Linked DNA regions of Homo sapiens: all the other regions are linked to region 3. Evidence: promoter capture Hi-C in 16 types of primary human blood cells and fetal thymus (Javierre and others, 2016). All regions are on one chromosome and are shown on one strand. The core of a region is centred on a gene start or on the middle of the fragment in contact, and the rest is flanking DNA. Distances in the headings are between cores, read along the strand shown.

Region 1 (3,558 bases), core at 990-3,489, 780 kb after region 3:
CTGCCTCTACTAAAAACACAAAAATTAGCTGGGCGTGGTGGTGCGGGCCTGTAATCCCAGCTACTCGGGAGGTGAGCCAGGAGAATCCCTTGAACCTGGGAGGCAGAGGTTGCAGTGAGCTGAGACCACACCATTGCACTCCAGCCTGGGTGACAGAGTGAGACTCTGTCTCAAAAAAAAAAAAAAAAAATTAAAATTAAATAAAATATTAAAAACAACAACAACAACAAAACACCACAGTGTAACATACTAACCTCACACTGGAGAAACTGGCAGACACCATTTGAACCAAGTTAGCACAATCGATAGTGGACAAAATCAGCATTGTATGCATCCTGAAAACACAACGTCACATCTGTTTCCTGCCACAAATGCAAAATCATGAGAAAGTATTAGACAAATAGCAATGGAAGGACTTCCTGCAAAATTACTAGCCTGGAATTTTTGAAAAATATTGATGTCATGGAGAGAAGGTAAGATTGATAAAATGTTCCAGAAAGAGAGACTAAATTAGAGTCGTTAACAACAAAATACAATGCTTGATCCTGGGATGGATTTGGGATTTTTTGTTTTTTGACACAGGATCTTGCTCTGTTGCCCAGGCTGGAATGCAGTGGTGAGGTAATGGCTCACTGCAGCCCAGAACTCCTGGGCTCAATTGATCCTCTCACTTCAGCCTCCCAAGTAGCTGGGACCACAGGAGGATGCCACCACAACTGGCTAATATTTTTATTTTATTTTGTAGAGATGGGGTCTCACTGTGCTGCCCAGACTGATCTCAGACTCCTAGACCCAAGAGACCTTCCTGCCTTGGGCTCCCAAAGAGCTGGGATTGCAGACATGACTCACTGTGCCTGGCCTGGACTTTGGATTTTTAAAGGACTTTATTGGAAACTTTTCTTTTCTTTTTTTTGAGACAGAGTCTGGCTGTGTTGCCCAGGTTAGAGTGCAGTGGCAAGATCTCCGCTCACTGCAACCTCCACCTTGCAGATTCAAGCAATTCTCCTGCCTCAGCCTCCTGAGTAGCTGGAATTACAGGTGCCCACAACAAAACCCAGCTAATTATTTGTATTTTTAGTACAGACAGGGTTTCACCATGTTGGCCGGGCTGGTCTCGAACTCCTGACCTCAAATGATCCAAGTGCTGGGATTACAGGCATGAGTCACTGCACCTGGCCTTTGAATGGGCTCTGGGAATTACATGATAATATTAGATGAACATTAATTTTCTGATTTTGAAGGTTATACTGTGATTATGTGCAAAAGTGTGCTTATACTAAGTGAACATATAGTGCAGTATTTTTTTAAAAATTGATCTGTCTTAGAGATGGGGGTGGGTGAGTTTACTATGTTGCCCAGACTGGCCTCGAACTCCTGGGCTCAAGTGATCCTCTTGCCTCAGCCTCCAGAGCAGCTGGGACTACAGGCCTGGGCCACCACACTTGGCTAACTTTTATTTTATTTTATTTTATTATTTATTTATTTATGTATTTATTTGAGACAGAGTCTCACTCTGTCACCCAGGCTGGAGTGCAGTGGCGCGATGTCGGCTCACTGCAAGCTCTGCCTCCCGGGTTCACGCCATTCCTCTGCCTCAGCCTCCCGAGTAGCTGGGACTACAGGCGCCCGCCACCACGCCCGGCTAATTTTTTTGTATTTTTAGTAGAGACGGGGTTTCACCGTGTTAGCCAGGATGGTCTCGATCTCCTGACCTCGTGATCCGCCCGCCTCGGCTTCCCAAAGTGCTAGGATTACAGGCGTGAGCCACCGCGCCCATCCTTTTAAATTTTTTGTAGAGACGGGAACTCACCATGTTGCCCAGGCTGGTCCCCAACATCTGGCCTCAAGCGATCCTTCCGTCTCGGCCTCCCAAAGTGCTCCGATTACAGGCATGAGCCACTGCACCCGGCCAGTCTCAAAAAAAAAAAAGTTAAATTCTGCAGAGGTTTTATTTATTAGAGGACGCTGGCCGTCTGCAGGTGGCGCAGCAGCACCCCCTCGTGCCTGGGGCGGGGCTGGGGCGGGGCCAGTGCTGGGGCGGAGCCGGAGCTGGGGGCGGAGCCAAGACGCGGCAGGGGCGGAGCCAGCAGCTGCGGCACAGCGGGGCCTGTGCGGCCCAAGTCGTCCCTGTGGCCTCCGGCCCCGCCTCTTAGGGCGGGACGTGCAAGGCGATTGGCGAATGCAGGCGAGAGGCGGTCGCTATTGGTCCGCGGCGCTGTCGGCTCGGCGGGCGGTGCCCGGACGCAGGTGCCGGCCGGAGCGGAGCTAGTGGCGCCGACGGGCCGGGCCGGGCCGGGACCGGGGCCGAGGCGAACCGAGGGGCCTGTGCGGCCGCCCGGCCCGGCCGCGGATCAGGTAGGCACGGGCCTGCAGGTAGGGCCGGAGGACGCCAGTCCGCGGGCCGGCCCCGGGTTCGAGGCCGGAGCTCGGCACCCGGGCGGGACGGCTGGGCTCGATCCCTTGGCCACAGCCTTCTCGGGGACGCGGGGACCTCAGTTCCCGTGTCAAGGCCGGTGGGAGGTCTCCGGGGTCCGGCACACATAGGCGCCTCTCCGAGCCTCGGTTTCCCCACCTGTGAAACTGGGTCATCCCATTGCCAACCTGATGGGGCTTCTGGGAGGATTCAGGAGGTGGCTGGTGCAGAAAACGCCTGACACACAGTAGGCAACTGCTAAGTGGCCAATGCCCTTCCCCAACCTCCTTCTCAGAGCGGCTCTGCCTGCAAAATAGTAAGTTATAATATAATGACCCAGCCACTTTGCACAAAGATGCTGAAACAGGATGCCCTGTGCTATGTGGGTGCTCAAAACGGGGTAGTCAAATGGGCATGTTGAGCTCATTCAGTTCTTTTGAAACCATACTGAGTAGGTGGAAGCAGTAGAAATGTCCCCTGTTATACAGTTGAGAGAGTCCAGGCTCAAAGAGGTTAAGTGTCTTGCCCAGGGCCACACAGCACATAAGGAGTAGAGCTGGGATTGGAACCTTGCTTCTCATGCAGGGAGGAATGAATGCAATAACAACCTCCACATTTACCCTAAAAAATATTAATAGAGCTTTTATTGAGCACTTACTGTGTGTGCCAGGGTTGACTGTGTGACCTCTCATCAACAACTCTGTAAGCTGATGATAGTAATTATAATAAGAGCTAATAGTTATTAACTTCTTAATTTTTTACTAATTTATGAACTACATATCATTATGACTCCCCGTCTTTTTTTTTTTTAGACAGAGTCTCTCTCTCTTGCCCAGGCTGGAATGCAGTGGCACGATCTGAGCTCATTGCAACCTCTGCCTCCCAGATTCAAGCGATTCCTACCTCACCCTGGTCAAGTAGTTGGGATTACAGGCCCCCGCCACCGTGCCTGGCCAATTTTTGTCTTTTTAGCAGAAACGGGGTTTCACCATGTTGACCAGGCTGGTCTCGAACTCCTGGCCTCAAGTGATCCACCTTCCTTGAACTCCCAAAGTGCACAAAGTGCTGGGATTACAGGCGTGAGCCACTGCGCCCGGCCTGTAACACTCATTTTAGAGATGATAATACTGAGGCTGAGAGAGTAA
Region 2 (3,381 bases), core at 372-2,871, 820 kb after region 3:
GATGGCGCCATTGCACTCCAGTCTGGGCAACAAGAGCGAAACTCCGTCTCAAAAAGATAATCGCTGCATCTTACTGCCCAAGTTGCCACAAGCACACGTAACATCTGATGGTGCCAATTCGACTGTCTGCACTTGGAAAATGGCACATTGGAGGCTGCACAGCACCATAAAACTGATGCCACGAATGCACACAAAAATAAGACCATACAGCATTATGCCTAGTACAGAATACACCCTGAATTCTGTCACAGTTCACTTTATGCAACATTGCAAGAGTCCTCTCGCTCTTTATTATTATTTTTAATTTTTTTGAGATGGGGTCTCACTCTGTGACCAGGCTGGAGTGCAGTGGCCCGATCTTGGCTCACTGCAACCTCCTCCTCCTGGGTTGAAGCGATTCTCCTGCCTCAGGCTCCCCAGTAGCTGGGATTATGGGCGCCTGCCACCACACCCGGCTAATTTTTGTATTTTTAGTAGAGACAGGGTTTCATCATGTTGGCCAGGATGGTCTGATCTCTTGACCTCGTGATCCACCCGCCTTGGCCTCTCAAAGTGGTAGGATTACAGGCGTGAGCTGCCGCGCCCAGCCATTAATTTTTTTTTTAATTTTGTTTTTAACTTTTAGGTTTGGGGGTAAATGTGAAGGTTTGTTAAATAGGTAAACACTTGTCATGGAGGTTTGTTGTACAGATTATTTCATCACCCAGGTATTAAGCCCAGTACTCAATACTTATCTTTTTGTTTTTTGAGATGGAGTCTCAGTCTATCTCCCAGGCTGCGGTGCAGTGGCGTGATCTCGGCTCACTGCAACCTCCGGCTCCTGGGTTCAAGCGATTCTCCTGCTTCAGCCTCCCGAGTAGCTGGGATTACAGGCGCCCGCCACCACGTCCAGCTAATTTTTTTATTTTTAGTAGAGACGCGGTTTCACCATGTTGGCCAGTCTGGTCTCGAACTCCTGACCTCAGGTGATCCGCCGCCTCGGCCTCCCATACCCAAAGTGCTGGGATTACAGGAGTGAGCCATCGCGCCTGGCCCCATTATTAGTGAATTTTAACAGTTTTCCGTTTCTTCTGGACGAACTGTTTGCAATTATAATGCGAATTACGGATAATACTCTGATATTATTCCATGCCGTTCCGTTGTTGCCTACAAAGTTCGCGCTGGAGAACCGCGCAATTGCGTTACAAAAAGAAAAAAATCACACAAAAAGACACAATGTTTTAAGAAAGTTTACGAATCGTGTGCCGGACCGCGGGTTGAACAAGCTTCATCTAAAACTTCCAGGAATCTCTAGACAGGATCATTGCTTCCCCTCTGCTCCAGCTCTGGTTACAGAAAGCTGAGAGTGACTAGGTCTAGGTGTTTGTGTGGGGTGGGGTGGGGAGATGCCTCCTCTATCGGACTCAGAGGACGCGCGCCGGGAACAGCCAGTCGGTGCCTAACGCGAGTGTATCTCGAGAGAGAAGCGATCAACAGCTGCCGGTCTGCGCCTGCGCGCGGCGGGGGCGTGGCCCGGGGCGAGTGGGGCCAAGGAGGCAGCCGGGAGCGGCGGGCGCAGGTGTTACTGGTTGCGTCGGGTCACGTGGGCGCGCAGGCGCAGCGCGGTGCAGCCCGTTCGCTCACACAAAGCCCAGACGCGGAGAAAATGGCGGCAGGGGTCGAAGCGGCGGCGGAGGTGGCGGCGACGGAGATCAAAATGGAGGAAGAGAGCGGCGCGCCCGGCGTGCCGAGCGGCAACGGGGCTCCGGGCCCTAAGGGGTGAGTATCCCACGGTCCTTTGCCACGGGTAAGGGTTCCTCTCCGCGGCCGACGCGGGCGGCGGCTCCGTTAGGTCTGTTGGCGGCCTAGCCCCGGCGCGGCCTCGGCCCCGGCTGTTCCCGTACCGCCTGCTCAGGGTAGCGGCGTCTAGGGCCGTGAGCGGGGAGCCGGGGGAGCCTCCAGAATCGTCCCCTACACCGGGCCTCGAGCCTCGCCACCCTCAGTCCCTCCAGGCCGGGGCCAACCCCGTAGTCGAGGCCTCAGGCCCAGCTGCTGCGCATGGGGGTTGATGGCGCGGGCCCGGACCGGAGAGCCTCCGAGGCCTACCCGACCGCTCCCCGGGAGGGTGACCTCGGGGGCCGGGTTTCAGCCCCCCGTCCCCTCTCCTCCCGGGGTCTGTTTTCTGATCCGTAACGTGGGGGGAGGAGAGAGGGTGCGCGCCCGGGAGGCCTCGCGCGCAGTCAGCCCGAGTCAACGGTAACCGAGCGAGGGAAGCGTCAGGAAGGGCCGCGAAGCCGGGTCGGGGGGCTCCCCTCCTGCCCCGCCCCTTAGTCCCCGCGCGCCGACCGCGCTCCGCGGGAAGTGCCTCCCTCGGAACCGCCCCTCGCCCCACGCTCTGGCCCTGGCTCAAGTCCCTCGCCGTTTCCCGCTCCTCCTCCCCGGGTGCGCCGCAGGTATTAGTGGAGAGATGGGATCTGCTGCTTAGCGTTCACCCTCGGAAGCAGACAGATACGAAGTCGGGGGAGGAATCCCCTTTTTCCCGTGTTTCGGGGAAGCTGTTCTGTCAGGAGGCGGGTTCATTTACTTCCAGACTTCATCAGCTTTTCGAGTCCTGCTTGGGGCTCTTTGACTCCTTGGCTTTTAAAAGTTTCTTTAAAGGAGGAAGCATCGACTTGTGCCCCGGTGAAACTCATTCATTCTGATTACAGACACTTAAGAGAGACAGAGAGGTTTTGGCTCCAAGATCAGCGGCCGGGAAGGAAGGGGAAGCCTGGGTACACATTGAATTTCCCAGACATTTATTTCATTGTGGTAAAATAGACATAACGTAGACTTTGCCATTTTAACCATTTTTTAAGCGTATAATTCAGTGGCATTGAGTATACTGACTCAGTGTGCTGTAACCGTCACTGCTTCATGTCCAGAACTTTTTCATCATCGGAAACAGAAAGTGTAGCTATTAAATACTAACTCCCTCCGTTTTCTTTCCTTTCTGTCTGTGACTTTGCCTTCCTCATATTGTAATGTGTGAAGCTTAGTTTATGGAGATTAAAAGTGAATGCGGTTGAGCACTTATATATTTAATTTTTTTCTTTGAGACAGGGTCTCCCTCTGTTACCCAAGCTGGGATGCAGTGGCACGATCACAGATCACTGCAGCCTCGAACTCCTGGGCTCAATCGATCCTTCCATCTCAGCCTCCTGAGTAGCTGGGATCACAGGCGCGGCACCACCATGCCCGGCTAATTTTTTGAAGAGAGGAGGTCTCCGGGTGTTGCCCAGGCTGGTCTGAAACTCCTGGGTTCAAGCCATCCTCCTGCCTAGGCCTTCCAAAGTGCTGAAGTTACAGGCATGAGCTACTGCGCCCTGCCTAGTTGAGCGCTTAGGTTAAGAACGTTCCCTA
Region 3 (3,483 bases), core at 984-3,483:
CAGGGGCCAAATTCGAGAGTGCTGCGTGATGGGCAGTGCCCGGAGGGCACGGTCGAAGGTGCGGCGGGTGTGTGTGACGCGCCCCTGGTCCATGAGGAACTGGCAGTAATCTAGCCACAGACGAGGCATCTGGGGGTGTGGGGAGAGGCGGCTGGGGCTAAGCCACGGACTCCATGGCCTGGCCACAGACACTCGATGTCCTGTGGCTGAGCCACACCTGGGGCCACCACATAAATGCGGCGGGACCCAGAAACCCCCAGCTCCAGGACTGAGTCCAGCCCAACTTCCCATGCAAAGAAGCAACAGGAATCCAAGCCCCCATCCCTAACATGCTGAGCCCAGCCCCTGTCCCCGCCCCACCCACCACCATGGACTGAGCTCCACTTCCCGATTCATCCCCTCGCCGAGCCCCAAACCTTGTGCATGAACACAAAGGCCCTCTCATGACAGTTGTTGACATCTTCATAGGCAGGGTCGGTCACACAGCGATGCTTCACCTGTGCCCGACGCGCCTTCAGGTATCGGTACCAGAGTTTGTAGCTGGGGAATAGGAGGGGACAGATGCTGATCGGTCAGCTTTATGGACACCCCCAGAACCATTTGCCCTGCCCCAGTTGGCAAATGTGGGAAGAAGGGGTGTGGGAGGGGTGACATGTCTCAGCAATGACAGGGACAGACTGGGACATCAGAGAAGGTGTGCTGACCCATCAAGGGATGTACAGGTCAGTGATGAAACACGAAGCAATCACCCGGGACCCGGGACCCACTTGGCAGTTTTGTTATAACTGGACCAGGTGGGGTGGGGGCTGGTGGGCAGGGCAGCTGGAGCCATTCCCACCTGCAGGGCAGCAGCTTGAGTGCCCGCTCGTATAGCTGATTGAGCCTGGGCTTCGGGGCGCCCTGTTTGAACTCGATGTAGCGAAGCCAGCATTTGACAGAGAATTGGTTCCGCATGATTTCCTCCTCATAGGGGAGGTCCTCTTCCTCCTGCCAGGGCCAGGGAATGGGAAGAAGAGAGGCCTACCCTCAGAGCCTGTGTGCAGCACCATCCCACTGCTGGGGCTCAGGTCCAAACTCCGGACTTTTACCTAGATCCCACCACCCACCAAGGAAGTCAGGTCACCAGATGCCCAGGCACCAAACCAGATGCCCGACACCAAGACAGTGGCCCAGACCTTTACCCCTCAGAATTCAACTACCCAAAATCGAACCCAAATCATCAGACTTCTCAGTCATTAGGGCTCTGGGCCAGGAATGAGTCCGCATCACCACTCGCTTTCTGCCCCAGATGGTCAGACTCCTTAGATACCAAGGCCCTGGCCCAGATGCCAGTCCTGGACACCAGACCCCACTTCTTCAAAACGTGCCTCTTCCCAGACACCAGGCCTTTGGCCCCTCAGACTCCCACTGTCACCATCTGACCCATCTCCACCCCAGGCCCAGATGACCAGATCTTTACCCCAGCCACCAGGGCTCTCAGGTCCAGATTCCAAGCCACTAGCCCCGCCCCCAGGATCCCACTAGCCAGCGTCTAGCTCAACTCTGCCCCAGAAATTAAAAGCTAGGCCTTTATCTCACAGGAGGAGTTATACACCAGAAGCCAAGCCTTTAACTCTGCACACCAAGAATCTGGTGAAGATGTCACGCCTCTACTCCAGAGAGTAAGTATTTCACTGGCCATCGCCTGACAAGCTCCACATCACCAGGGTTCTTCTAGCCTGGCCACCACCCCAGAAACTGTCATGCTGCAGTCCAGGCCTAGAGACCGCTATCCAGAAAACCAAGCCTTCATCCCAGAAACCAGAACCCTGGCCTCGTAAGCAAGCCTTTACTTCAGACACCGATCTTCACCTCTCAAGGTTCAGTTATGCGATCTTCCTCCTCTCCCATTCCCTGCACGCCCCCATTTCCGCCCCTGGTTCGGGAGGCTAGACGCTTCCCTTCGACAGTGGTTTTCTACTCAGACCCGAAGATACAACACCATATTTTTACTCCTGGACAGTTCGGTGCGGACATGACGATCCGGTCTCTGGCCCATTAGGGTTCCCAGACCTTGGCCTGGCAGTTTCGGCCTAAATCTCCTTGCCGACCCAGCCTCGATCCCCTGCGGCGTCCAGGTCCCAATGCCCCAACGCAGGCCACCCCCGGCTCCTCTGTGGACTCACGAAGACAAGGTCCGGCCGCTCGGGCCGCGAGAGTCGCGCCATCACCACCATTTTTCTGGATGCCCAGGTACAGGAGAGAGTCGCGCGCTTATGACGTCTACCACTGACGGCCCGCCCCTCCGAGCCAGACCCGTTTTCTATTGGTTAAATCATTTTTGACGGACAGGCCCACGTTATTGACTTCTTTTCGACGACGCCAGCGACCGGAAGCAGAATAGAGGCGCCAGAAGATGCGCCATCAGGATACACATTGGCCAATCAGCTTCAGCAATGGAGCGTGCAAAACACCAGTGAGCTTCTGTCTTGCTGGAGGGTCGGCTTTGGGCGGAACTGGCTTTGTTGACCGGGAGAAACGAGATGGGGGTGAAGCTGGAGATATTTCGGGTCAGTGGACACAGGAGTGGGTTGGGAGGCTGGGCAGGGGATCTTCCTGGATCTGAAGATGAGGTTGGAAATGGGGGGACTTCAAAGGAAGAGGGAGCTCCAAGGAGAAAGCTCTTAAGATTTGAGAGGAACCTTTCTGGTTGGAAATCCAGGAGAGGGGACGCTGGGCTGGGGGGGTTCTCGGATTTGGGCTTCTGGGTTTGGGGGCTGTGAGAGGGCTGGTCCGAGGAAGGACCTCAGAGAGGGGTGAGCTGAGAAGGGGGCTCTAAAGAAGGAAGACTTAAGATCCTGGGGGAGCTCTCGGGCTCGTGGTGGGTGGGTGTCTATGACAGGGAGATTCCTAGACTTCGAGAAGTGGAGTTGAAGAGTGACGCCTCCTGGGTTTGGGGGTGCTCCCGGGATCTTAAGTGGGGATGGGTAATGAGGTCTCGAGGAGATGCTTTTGATTGTAGCTGGGGCGTCTGTGTGTCTGTCTGTGTTTGAGAGGAAGACTCCAGCTCAGAGGGAACTTTCAGGAATGAGGCCTCCTGGATTATAGGAGTTAGGTTTTAGGGTGCGAGGTTTCTGTACCCTTGGTGGGAGTTCTGGGATTCTTGGGTCGGCCGTAACGAGGCGCTTCTGGACTCTGCAGTAGGATGGGTCCCCCAGGCTCTGAGGAGCCTCTGCACATTGCTTGGGGGGAGCTCACCTCACCCACCCTCTGCCATTCCAGATGATAATCTACCTCACTTTCCCTGTGGCTATGTTCTGGGTTTCCAATCAGGCCGAGTGGTTTGAGGACGATGTCATACAGCGCAAGGTGGGCATAAGAGGAGTGTTTGAGGGTTCATTCCAGGGGTGGGAGAGGGTGTGGGGCAGCAGTCTGCTGGGGACTAATGTCTGCCTCCCATAAGCCGACCCTGCCCTGATGTGGGGCTCTGGAGGCCTTTGGCTC

Evidence for each region. Contacts are between HindIII fragments. The CHiCAGO score rates a contact against its expected background, and 5 or more counts as called.
Region 1: a contact is called between the fragment with the promoter of MARCHF2 here and the fragment with the promoter of XAB2 in region 3, in 1 of 17 cell types (non-activated CD4 T cells). The highest score is 5.2, in non-activated CD4 T cells.
Region 2: a contact is called between the fragment with the promoter of HNRNPM here and the fragment with the promoter of XAB2 in region 3, in 1 of 17 cell types (fetal thymus). The highest score is 6.2, in fetal thymus.

What each region holds. Positions count from the first base shown.
Region 1 is chr19:8,411,066-8,414,623 of GRCh38, forward strand. It overlaps MARCHF2 (membrane associated ring-CH-type finger 2), which reads left to right and starts at 2,240. Exons shown (of 5, transcript NM_001005415.2): 1 at 2,240-2,355. RefSeq lists enhancers at 700-994, 1,865-2,365 and silencers at 1,857-2,216, 2,247-2,406. The HindIII fragment of the contact is 7,216 bases long and covers 1-3,558 here.
Region 2 is chr19:8,443,354-8,446,734 of GRCh38, forward strand. HNRNPM (heterogeneous nuclear ribonucleoprotein M) reads left to right here and starts at 1,622. Exons shown (of 16, transcript NM_005968.5): 1 at 1,622-1,758. The coding sequence starts at 1,646. RefSeq lists silencers at 1,381-1,660, 1,901-2,130. The HindIII fragment of the contact is 1,747 bases long and covers 1,264-3,010 here.
Region 3 is chr19:7,627,312-7,630,794 of GRCh38, forward strand. It overlaps XAB2 (XPA binding protein 2), which reads right to left and starts at 2,234. Exons shown (of 19, transcript NM_020196.3): 1 at 2,166-2,234; 2 at 839-987; 3 at 417-540; 4 at 1-129. The coding sequence starts at 2,216. PET100 (PET100 cytochrome c oxidase chaperone) reads left to right here and starts at 2,482. Exons shown (of 4, transcript NM_001171155.2): 1 at 2,482-2,549; 2 at 3,262-3,348. The coding sequence starts at 2,523. It also overlaps a transcript of STXBP2 not described here. RefSeq lists enhancers at 2,146-2,265, 2,526-2,575. The HindIII fragment of the contact is 14,766 bases long and covers 1-3,483 here.